Linked DNA regions of Homo sapiens: all the other regions are linked to region 1. Evidence: promoter capture Hi-C in 16 types of primary human blood cells and fetal thymus (Javierre and others, 2016). All regions are on one chromosome and are shown on one strand. The core of a region is centred on a gene start or on the middle of the fragment in contact, and the rest is flanking DNA. Distances in the headings are between cores, read along the strand shown. Region 1 holds the start of IL21R (interleukin 21 receptor). Region 2 overlaps ARHGAP17 (Rho GTPase activating protein 17). Region 3 has its middle 10 kb from the start of LINC02175.

Region 1 (3,425 bases), core at 1-2,500:
CCTCCTGGCTTTGAATGTCCCGCACCTGGTCTTCTGCCTTCACTGAGCAGAGACGTCATTCCTGCGGCAAGTCCTAAGTTCCCGCTCCCCAGGGCTCCTCCACCAGGAATGTTCTTCCTTTCCCATCCTTCAAGGCTCAGCCTCCACTGACCTCCCCACCCTCCTCTCCTCCACATGCACAGGGAACTGGGTTGGCCTCTTACCATCCGACCCGTTCCCCGTGCTTCATGAGAAAGATGCAGCGACAGCTCATGGGGTCACCTGGCTTGACTGCCCGACCTGCTACGTCCCAGTTGAGTCACCGAGGGAAAATCACTCTACCTCTCGCAGCCTCATTGCCTCATCTGCGAAATGGGCACACCAGCCATTGTTTTGAATGACTGGGTGGAATCAAGGTGGTAAGACATAGAAACTGACACAGAATGGGTCCCATCAGGCTCTACACCCATGCCCGTCACCTCCCGACTCAGCCGCCCAGAATCGGGTGATTGACATGTTATGTTTGGCTTGAAACTGGCTTTCCTTCCCCAGCCCGCTACATTTTGGAGGCTGGTTTTCAAGATAGAGGGTCGTCTCAGCCACATCCCTGCTGCTGGGCCCCTAAGCTGTGCTGAACAAGAGACCCCAACCTCATTTCTGCCCAGCCTCACTGCATGAATCTTCTTTGCCTCAGTGTCCCCAATTGTGACTTGGGCACAGTCCTCCGAGCCCTCCCACTGTGACACTAGATGCAGCAGGCAGGGAACAGTCCCTCCTGGGCAGAGAAGGCACCCTGGTCCCAGCAGAAAACCAGGGCTGGAATTACCTTCTGTTTCGGCTTCTTTCTCAGAAATCCATTCCGTGTGCTGGGGGCAGTCTGATGGGCTTCTGGGGGTGGCAGCTGGGTTCAGCGTGGGGGTGACAGATGAGGGTCTGAGAAAGCAGGCAGAGGCCTGGGGTGAGAATCCACACCCAGCCCGAGTCACCAATCAGGCTGTCATAAGACCTGTCACTCTGATGACGGGCAGCTGGGCCTCCAGGCAGGTGTCCCACAGAGCAGCAGACAGAGGAAAGAGACGGCAAGGAAGGTACCAGGCGGCCGCAGCAGGGATGCACGGGCCGCAGACAGACAGACACAGCTGCGTGGCTGTCAGCCACACTCAGGGAGAGGCAGGCAGAGGGCCAGACGCCGAGCTTACGGTCACTCAGCAGAGAGACGCCAGTGGGTCTGTCTGAGGCCGCTGGCTGCCACCCAGCCGCATGTGCAGAGTGGGGAGGAAGAGGAGGATGTGGTGAGCCGCTCCCCGCCAGCCCCGCCCACCCGCAGCTGGGCTCCTCCTGGGAGGGAGTGAGAAAGAGGTGGGAGGGGGCCTGGCCCCACAGCAGGCACCCACTGTCACCAAAGGTCACCTGCAAGTAAGACATTTGGGGCCATCGGGGTGACACTTCCCTCTTAGGGACCTGTGACATCATCCCCACAGGCCTCTCAGTCATAACCCATGAGGCAGGCAGTGCCTCCTGGAGCCACCACATTGCACAGATATGGAAACTGAGGCCAGAGGTGTGAAGATGTGGCACAGTTTCACCCGTGGACCCAGAGTCCTCAGTGGCCGACTCCAGCCCCTCAGCACAGAGAGAAGGACCAGAACCTTGCCCAAGGTCCCACGGAAGCCCCTTTTTCAGACTTTGCAAACCAGCCTGTTTCTTATTCCTGAGCCTTACCTGCCTAATAGGGTCTGAGCTTGGGACCCTCTGCTCTGGCTTGACCCCCATGCCTCTCTGCCTCCATTTCCTTTGGATCCAGTCTCCTGCTGCAGAGCTCCAGGGAGCAGGACCCCTTGGGCACGTCACATCACCTCTCTGAATGCCTCACTTTGCCCATCTGTCAAATGGGGGCACCTAGCTATGAGGAAGAGGGCAGACATTAACACATGAGAATTCAAGAAGAAAATAGAGAAAAGAAATTCTCAAGAGAGTTTTCATCTTGCTAACATGCCAGAGGCCCATGAGAGGGTCAGATGTTTCTGGAAGACATTCAAGAAACCAGGAGACAAAATGTAACAAGCTTAATGCCTAGTGCAGTCTCCAAAGGAGAGCAAGAGAATTGCTACCACCACCACCGCTACCACCACCACCACTACCACTGCCATCACCACCACCTCGAATTACTTTGGTGCCTACATGATCTCACTTTATCCCACAAAGTGTGAGGCAGACAAGATTAGTCCCATTTTACAGATGGAGAGACTGAGGCCCAGAGGAGTGAAACGTCACACAAGCCAAGAAGAATTAGAGCTGGGATTTGAACCTGGGTGTGTTTGATTCCTAAGCTTATACCAGGCTGTGAAAACGGGGCCATACCAGGATGAAATGTCCCACAGTTGGGGGAGGCTATTTTATGCTGTTTTGATAACAAGATGCAATTTGTAGCTCTCCCTGCTGACTCATTTTTGGGAATCAACTTGCTGTTGACTTTCGTGACCACTCCAGAGAAAAAAGAGAAAGCGTCTTGCTATTCTTTCTTTCTTTTTTTTTCTAGCTGTTTTTGAGGAACTTGGTACAAATTCCCCTGTGGTTGATTTGAGGGATCCTGGCCCTGTAGAGCTCTTCCCAGCTACCGAAGTGTGTCGTGTTCTCTGGAGAACGAACCTTGGGAAGACACCAGCTTTTGTTTTTCTTTCTCTTGATCTTCGGGGTGAATTCTCTGATAACATGCACTGAAATTTGTAGTGGTTGAAAGATCAGGAGAAGAGACAGTAAAAAGAGCTAATATTTGCTGAAAGCTCATTGTGTGCCAGGGTTTTAAGGACTTTAAAGATGCACCCTCTCATTTAAACCTCAGAAATACTCGAGAAGGCTGTGTGCAGCGGTGCACACCTATAATTCCATCATTTTGGGAGGCTGAGGTGGGAGGATCGATTGAGGCTAGGAGTTCAAGACCAGTCTGGGCAACATAGCAAGACCCTGTCTCTATAAAAAAATTTAAAAATTAGACAGTCATGGTGGTGCACGCCTGTAGTCCCAGCTACTCTGGAGGCTGAGGTGGGAGGACCACTTGAGCCAAGGAGCTGAAGGCTGCAGTGAGCTATGACTGTAGTGCTGCACTCAAGCCTGGGCAACAGAGCAAGACTCTGTCTTCAAAAATAAAATCCCCAAAATGAAAAAGAATGAGTCTAGAAGATAGTTATCATCATCATCATCATCGTCCCTGTTTTACAGATGAGGAAACTGAGGCTCAGAGAGGTTAAGTGACTTGTCCAAGGTCACACAGCTGATGAGTGCCAGAGTTGGGATTTGAACTCAGTCATTTGGGCTCCAGAGCCCGCACTCTTAACTCACTACACTGCTCTGGGGTGTGTATGAAAACAAGGATATTCAATTTCTCCTCCCTCCCTCCTGCCTGCCTTCTTTATCTACCTGCTTTCTACCCACCCACCTACCTATCC
Region 2 (3,425 bases), core at 405-2,904, 2.4 Mb after region 1:
TCATCCCTTATTTAATTGGTTAGACTCCAAAATAGTGTGTAGCTGTATAAATGTTTATAGGAATATTGTGTAAAGGGCATATGATTCTACCTTTATTGGACATTTCAGGAACATGATAAGGACTATTTAAATCCTGCTAAAATACAAGTGTTGTAATATGAATTGTTCCCAATGGAAGTTTGCAAGCAACGTTCTCCTCATTTTCGAACCACACAACTTTTAGTGTGTCTGCTATTTGAGCTTTATTCTGTGTCTGTTTTGTGTCATGAGGTTGGCAGGTGATCTTAAATGCAGAATGCTGAATTTGTAGTAGTCCAACTATATGGAGAAAACAATTGCAATGCACTTTAGATTTAGGAACAAATTGGAGGAGAAAGTTGAGAAATGGTAAGAGGAGTTTTAATGGAGCGTATGTGGCAGTATGCTAATGTCACTTCTAAAGAAGAGGTGGTTAGCAGGTCACAAGGCAGTAGACTGAATTGTAGCCTCTGAATCTCAGGGCAGTCTTTAGGAATGGAAACCTTGCTGCCTGTAGATTTAGGTAGAGGTTTTAATAACCCCCCCGTTGCCAGAAAAAATCATCCACACACAGATTTGCCTATAATCTTATGGACTTCACAGACATCCTCAAGCGCATGGACAAAAACCCCAAGATTCAAGAAAAGCCGTCCACATGGTCGGCAGCTCAAGAAAGCCTGCCAGTTGTCCAAGCAATGCTTAGTTACAGTTCCCATGCTGGGAGCTGCTCTCTAGAGAAATGTTATTTGCAGATGTGCACCTCGTGCGTCTGTGTGTGTTGTTCTGCCTGTGTCCAAAATACATGCTTTTTCTAGATGGGAGCCTTTCCCCCACAAAGCAGAAATGTGTTCTGTCATGGGATTTGATGATCATCAAATTACTTTCCCTCAAGAATTGGCTTTCTTGGCGATTAGTTAATTCAGTTTTCAAAACTTTTAGATAAGGGCTTAATCAACGTAAAACTGCTTTGGGGCAGTTGCATTGTAGTAAAAAGTGTATTGGACTTGAGTCTGAGGGCTTGAGATCCTGTCTGTACTGTTTACTCGCTGTGTCTGTGACCTTGGTCCAATCAGCCACTCTGCTGTGTTCCTATACGTGAGAAACGGCTCCTGATACCACCAGGAGCAAGCTCTGCTGTGTTTAAGAAGGTGGTGTGTGCTAGGGAGGCGTCATGAGACAGTGAGGACATACAGTGTGACACAGCAGGTCAGCACTGGGGAAAATAGCCAGGTTAGCCTTCACTTCACTGCTCTATGCCAAAATACATTCCAAATGGGTTAAAGCTTTCATGTAAAAAATAAAACCACAAAATAAATACAAGAAAATATAGCTTATTGTGGAAAGTACTGCATGCTTTGGCATAAAAATGTGGAGAAAGAACAATAAAAGATAGCCTGTAGGTGGGACATGCGACTCCCACCTGTATCCCAGTTGTTAGGGAGGCGAGGCAGGAGGGTCATTTGAGGCCAGGAGTTTGAGCCCAGCCTGATTAACATAGTGAGGCCCGTGTCTGTAAAAGGAATTTTGGAAAAATTAGCTGGGTGAGGTGGCACACCCCTGTAGTCCCAGCTATTTCAGGAGGCTGAGATAGAAGAATCCTTAGAGCCCAGGAGCCGGAGCTGCAGTGAGTCATGATTGTGCCCCTGCAGTCCAGCCTGGGTGACAGAGTGAAACCCCATCTCTAAAAAATAAATAAATAAATAAATAAATAAATAAAACACCTGTAGATTTAACCACATAATAACTACACTTCTGTCTGTTTTATTATATCAAAGTTAAATTTAAAACGATGACTAATTGGAAAAAACTGAGAGCAACCACTACAGAGGTGAATATACTGAATGTATAAAGCTCTCTAGTAATTTTAAGAACTCCGCTCTAATGAGCAGATATCACAGACAGAAACTTCTCAGATGAAATACCGATGACCAGGAAATCTGTGAGACCACTTTAAAAAATTCGAAGTCATTGAAGAAATGCAAAGCTTCCAGGCTCCACTTTTCACTGATGAAATTGGCAGAGTTTGGGACAATGAGATGTTGCTGTCCCGGGAGTGTGGATGGGGCTGTGTCCTGTGATGGCGGTGGGCACTGGCACTCTTGTCCAGAAAGACATTCGCCACTGTGGTTCAAGAAGCACCTCAAAGGTCTTCACCTTGGTCCCTTGTCCACCTCTGCCCGCGGTCTCTCCTCCTTTCAGCCTCCTCTTTCCCACACAGTCCCTCCCGCCCTGGCTTGGTCCCCTTTCTTCTCTGATGGGGTCAGGCATGTGGGTGACTGACTTCCAAGGCTCTGTCTACCTGGCCTTTTTCTTTCACCTGTTCTGCGGAATAATAGCCTGATTCATTCCTCTTTTTGGGTCCTTCACTTCCATACCTGGGATTCGGGGCGTGGCCCAGAAAGACCCTGCAGTCGTGCAGTGTGGGGCTGCCAGCATTTCATGGCCTCCAAGCTCAGCTGGGCTGAATGAATGCTGCCGTCCAGCGCTTGGCTTAGTTTTCTGTCCCGTTTTCCTGAGTGCTTTTGCCAGACTTTCACTTTTCTGAAACCTACTTCACCCTACCCCAGACACCCACCCTCTCTCCTTGGATGACCTGCCTCCTAATTTCCTAAGAAAACTGGACATGGCCACCTTTCCCCAGTGTCTGAGGCCCAGGTTGACCCGTGGTCATGGTTGCCGTCACCACCCACCTGCCTGGACCCCACCCTCTGTCCAAGGCCCCGCCACCTGTGCCGCTGTCCTGGGCGCTGCCTTGCCAGCCTCCCCTCTGTGCCATGCACCTTTCACCTCCCTCCATCTGCTGCCTGTTTCTTCTTGGCTGCTCCTCATGGTCAGGCTTTTCTCAGCCCTCCCCTTCCTTCTGGGGCTTTGCGTCTTCCTCTGTCATCCACGCTCTGCGTCTTGGCTTCCCAGGACCCTCTCCTCCCACTTTCCTGTCCCTGACGTCCCTGTGCCCGGGGCCCAGTTTGCATCATCAGCCAGTCCCTCATCCATGCTTCACCCGCACCTCGCTCCTGGCTTCTTCCCTGCCCTCCCTGGGGACTCCTATCCTGTCCCCTGCCCTGGTTCTCCTTCCGCTGTGTCCCAGGGCCTCCATCCTCAGCCTCCGTCTTCTCTGCAGGGTCTGCTTCTGCATGAACTCCCCCAGATCCGTGTTTGCTGCTGGTCCTCACAGCAGGCTCTTCGTTTCTGGACCAGATGTCTTTTCTGTGCTTCAGAACCATCTAGAAAAAAGGGAACTGGATATCTCCACCTGAATGTTCAACAGGTCCCTTCACCCAGCATTTCCAGAGCTGACCTCATTGTACCTTCATATCCTCCCAGTGTTTCTCTTTTGGTGAGGAAAAACACACATTGTCCAGCCAGTCCCTCAAGGCAGAAACCTGGTGGTCATCCTCAGCTCCTCC
Region 3 (3,425 bases), core at 433-2,932, 2.3 Mb after region 1:
ACTCACCGCGAAGGTCTGCAGCTTCGCTGCTGAGCCAGCAAGACCACGAACCCAACCAGAAGGAAGAAACTCCGAATACATCCAAACATCAGAAGGAACAAACTCCAGACATGCCACCTTTAAGAACTGTAACACTCACTGCGAGGGTCCGCGGCTTCATTCTTGAAGTCGGTGAGACCAAGAACCCACCAATTTCGAACACAACTTCACTCCTGCCTGGGTAACAAAGTGAGGAAAAAAAACATGAATGAACCCCTGAAACTTCAGGTCTCTTGGCTGATAAGGAGCTTTCGGGGAGGGAGATGGTCACTTACCTCTGTTGATTTCAGGGACTTTCCTGTCTTTAGACAGTCTCACAAAGTGGTGGATGTAAGGGTCGTGCCAGCAGCCCAACCTTACTGCAAGCCTGGAAGGGAGAAAAAAAGAGGAAGGTGAGTAGAGATTGAGTAGGTTCGGGCCAGGGTCCGCTGCCAAGTTATCAGGAACCAGGTCAAGGAACTCGACAAAAACCAACCATCCACCTCGAAAGGCCAAGTGCACATTCAGTGCCCCGTTACACATGCGAAGACGCAGCCATCCATTCATCTTTATGTTCACGTACCGCCCATTACATTGCCCACAGTGGGCTTCTGACTCCCTTTCCTCATAGTGCTAGTTCACTTCTCAGGACCCTACATAGCAAATAACCTCACTTCATGCTTCATACAAAAGATGTGCAGCCATTTATTCACTCTGCAAACTCATGGCCAGAGCTAGTCAGTTAATTCCACTAAATGAAAAGACCTGTGCCCAGGGGAAGGGAGACTCAGAAACACTTGACAAACAGCATGAATTAACCCAAGTGTTTCTCCTGACTCTGTATTAGGTGCCGTCCTCTTACTCCCCTTACAGAGGTCAGAGTGGGGAAACCAGGAACGAATGAACAATACGTGTACAACTTGGGAAATGCCATGGGAGCCTTAATTGTCTCTATTCTGGTCTACAGTACAAGGAGTTAAGGCTTTGTGTTTCAAGGCTGGGAGCTGAAACCCTGATTAGCACAGGAAGCCTTGTTGCAATCATGAGTAGAACCAGCTTTAGGACGACTGAGGAGTCATGAAAAGAACCTGGATCCCGAAGGCCATGCTCAGCTGCTCTGGGCCTGTGGACTGCTCTATCTCTGAACGTATATTTTGTGAGATAATAAGTGTTTTTACCCTTTAAGCCAATTTGAGTCAGGCTTCTGTTAACAGCCTAAAGCATCCTAATGATACCCTGAGTAATACCCCCATTTCCTTGTTCCCTGCTAAGGTAAAATGTAGGGAATGTGTGTGTGATGTCTCTGAGCTCCTAGAAGCAGATAATATACCTTTTCTTTATATCTACTGCCAAGGCTTACTTCTGCCTTGACTACAATAGGTGCTGAATTCTGTACAAACACATCTCCCAATCTGTCATCCATAGACACCCAAAACACATGTTCAGGTGTTCCATGCAGCAATTCACAGAAACGTGAAATATTCACTAATGTGCACAATTTGCTATACAAGCCCAGACTGTCCAAGGAAAACATACTCAGTTTTATAACCATACACTTACTCAGTTATCTAAAATAGTGCTTTTCAAACAGTAAGTGGTGACTAATTAATATCATAAGATCAATTAGTTTGCAAACCTGCTTTTTTTTTTTTTTTTTTTAATGTGAGGCTGGGATGGTGGTTCATGCCTGGAATCTCAGCACTTTGGGAGGCCGGGGCAAGCGGATCACTTGAAGCCAGCAGTACAAGACCAGCCTGGCCAATATGGTGAAACTACTAAAAATACAAAAATTAGCTGGGCATGGTGGTCCGCGTCTGTAATCCCAGCTACTCAGGAGGCTGAGGCACAAGAATTGCTTGAACCCGGGAGGCGGAGGTTGCAGTGAGCCAAAATTGCACCACTGCACTCCAGCCTGGGCCACAGAATGAGACTCCAGCTCAAATAAAAAAGAAAGAAAGAAGAAATGGAATAGAATAAAATAAAAAATAAGATGCATTACACATAGTGTTAAGACATTTGTGAACCTTTTGTTTCTAATTCTAATTTTTAATTTTTTTGTAGACATGAAGTTTTGCTATAGCTGGTCTCGAACTGCTGACCTCAAGTGATTTCTCCCATCTTGGCCTCCCAAGATGCTGGGATTACAGGTGTGAGCCATTGCACTTAGACAACTTTTGTTTCAAGTGTGTGTTGAGGGTATAAGTGCAATGATAAAGGTTATTTTTTCACTGTGGGTGGCAGTTTCATAAACAGATTCCTTTTTTTTTTTTTTTTTTTTTTTTGAGGCAGAGTTTCGCTCTTGTTGCCCAGGCTGGAGTGCAATGGCACAATCTCGGCTCACTGCAACCTCCACCTCCCGGTTTCAAGCGATTCTCCTGCCTTAGCCTCCCAAGTAGCCGAGATTACAGGTATGAGCCACCAGGTCCCGCTAATTTTGTATTTTTAGTAGAGACGGGGGTTTCATCAGGTTGGCCAGGCTGGTCTCGAACCCCTGACCTCAGGTGATCCACCCGCCTCGGCCTCCCAAAGTGCTGGGATTACAGGGTTGAGCCACCGGCCTGGCCTTAAACAGATTTCAAATGAATCCTCTAGTGCCATCTAGTGTTAACAGTTTTATCTGCAGTTGAAACCCACAGATGAGAACACACCCCACAGTTCTAAGGGTTGGAAGAAGCCTAATCTTGCCAACCCCAGCATCCAGTGCAAGAACCATTGCAACAATATCACTACGTGACCACTCCCCTGAGGAAGGCACTCACCCCACTGCTAAGCAACTCTGTTGAAAAGCTGATCAAAATGCTTCCCTCTGGAAGCCCTAACTTGGTAGACTTACAAAACTACTCTCTTGCATAATAAAGAGCAGGTTCTTCTATTCTCTCACCTCCGGATTCCTTACACTATTCAATACGACTAGTGTAGTCAAGGAACATGTGGGTGTCTGCCAAGTGCTAGGCACTGGGGGTACAGTGGTAAACAAGGAGAGAAAGGAGAGGCAGATAATTACAAGATGATGAGGAATGAAGGCAGTGACTCGTAGAGAGGATGAAGATGATAGGGGGAGGCCTCTCTCAGAACGGGATGGCCGTGGCGAGCCCTGGAGAATGGGAGAGTCAGGTGTCCAAAAGGCATTCTAGACAGGAGGAAGGGCAGGCAGAAAGACTCAGGGAACACACCTGAGCCTCCAGTACAGAAAGGAGGCAGGGAGGCCGGAGGACAGTAAGAAACTGGAGAGGAGGCCAGAGGGAGAGGCAGGCTCAGGACGCAGCGCCTGGTGGGCATCTGGGACTGACCTCAGGAGCACCCTGTCCATGGTCACAGTGGTGCACAGTGGTAGAGAGTGGTGAGATGCACGGGTCCATAATGCAAACACACCCAGCCAGCAACTCCCACCGTCTCCCACCTCTAGT

The links. Contacts are between HindIII fragments. The CHiCAGO score rates a contact against its expected background, and 5 or more counts as called.
Region 2: a contact is called between a fragment that was not itself captured here and the fragment with the promoter of IL21R in region 1, in 1 of 17 cell types (M1 macrophages). The highest score is 8.1, in M1 macrophages.
Region 3: a contact is called between a fragment that was not itself captured here and the fragment with the promoter of IL21R in region 1, in 1 of 17 cell types (non-activated CD4 T cells). The highest score is 6.1, in non-activated CD4 T cells.

Annotation. Positions count from the first base shown.
Region 1 is chr16:27,399,999-27,403,423 of GRCh38, reverse strand. It overlaps IL21R (interleukin 21 receptor), which reads right to left and starts at 1,250. Exons shown (of 9, transcript NM_181078.3): 1 at 806-1,250. RefSeq lists enhancers at 619-738, 631-1,173. The HindIII fragment of the contact is 2,346 bases long and covers 1-2,046 here.
Region 2 is chr16:24,997,710-25,001,134 of GRCh38, reverse strand. All of the region lies in intron 1 of ARHGAP17 (Rho GTPase activating protein 17), which reads left to right. Among named protein-coding and RNA genes, the nearest start is that of ARHGAP17, 16 kb to the left of the region's middle. The HindIII fragment of the contact is 701 bases long and covers 1,304-2,004 here.
Region 3 is chr16:25,054,997-25,058,421 of GRCh38, reverse strand. No RefSeq gene overlaps it. Among named protein-coding and RNA genes, the nearest start is that of LINC02175, 10 kb to the left of the region's middle. RefSeq lists a silencer at 2,580-2,709. The HindIII fragment of the contact is 8,824 bases long and covers 1-3,425 here.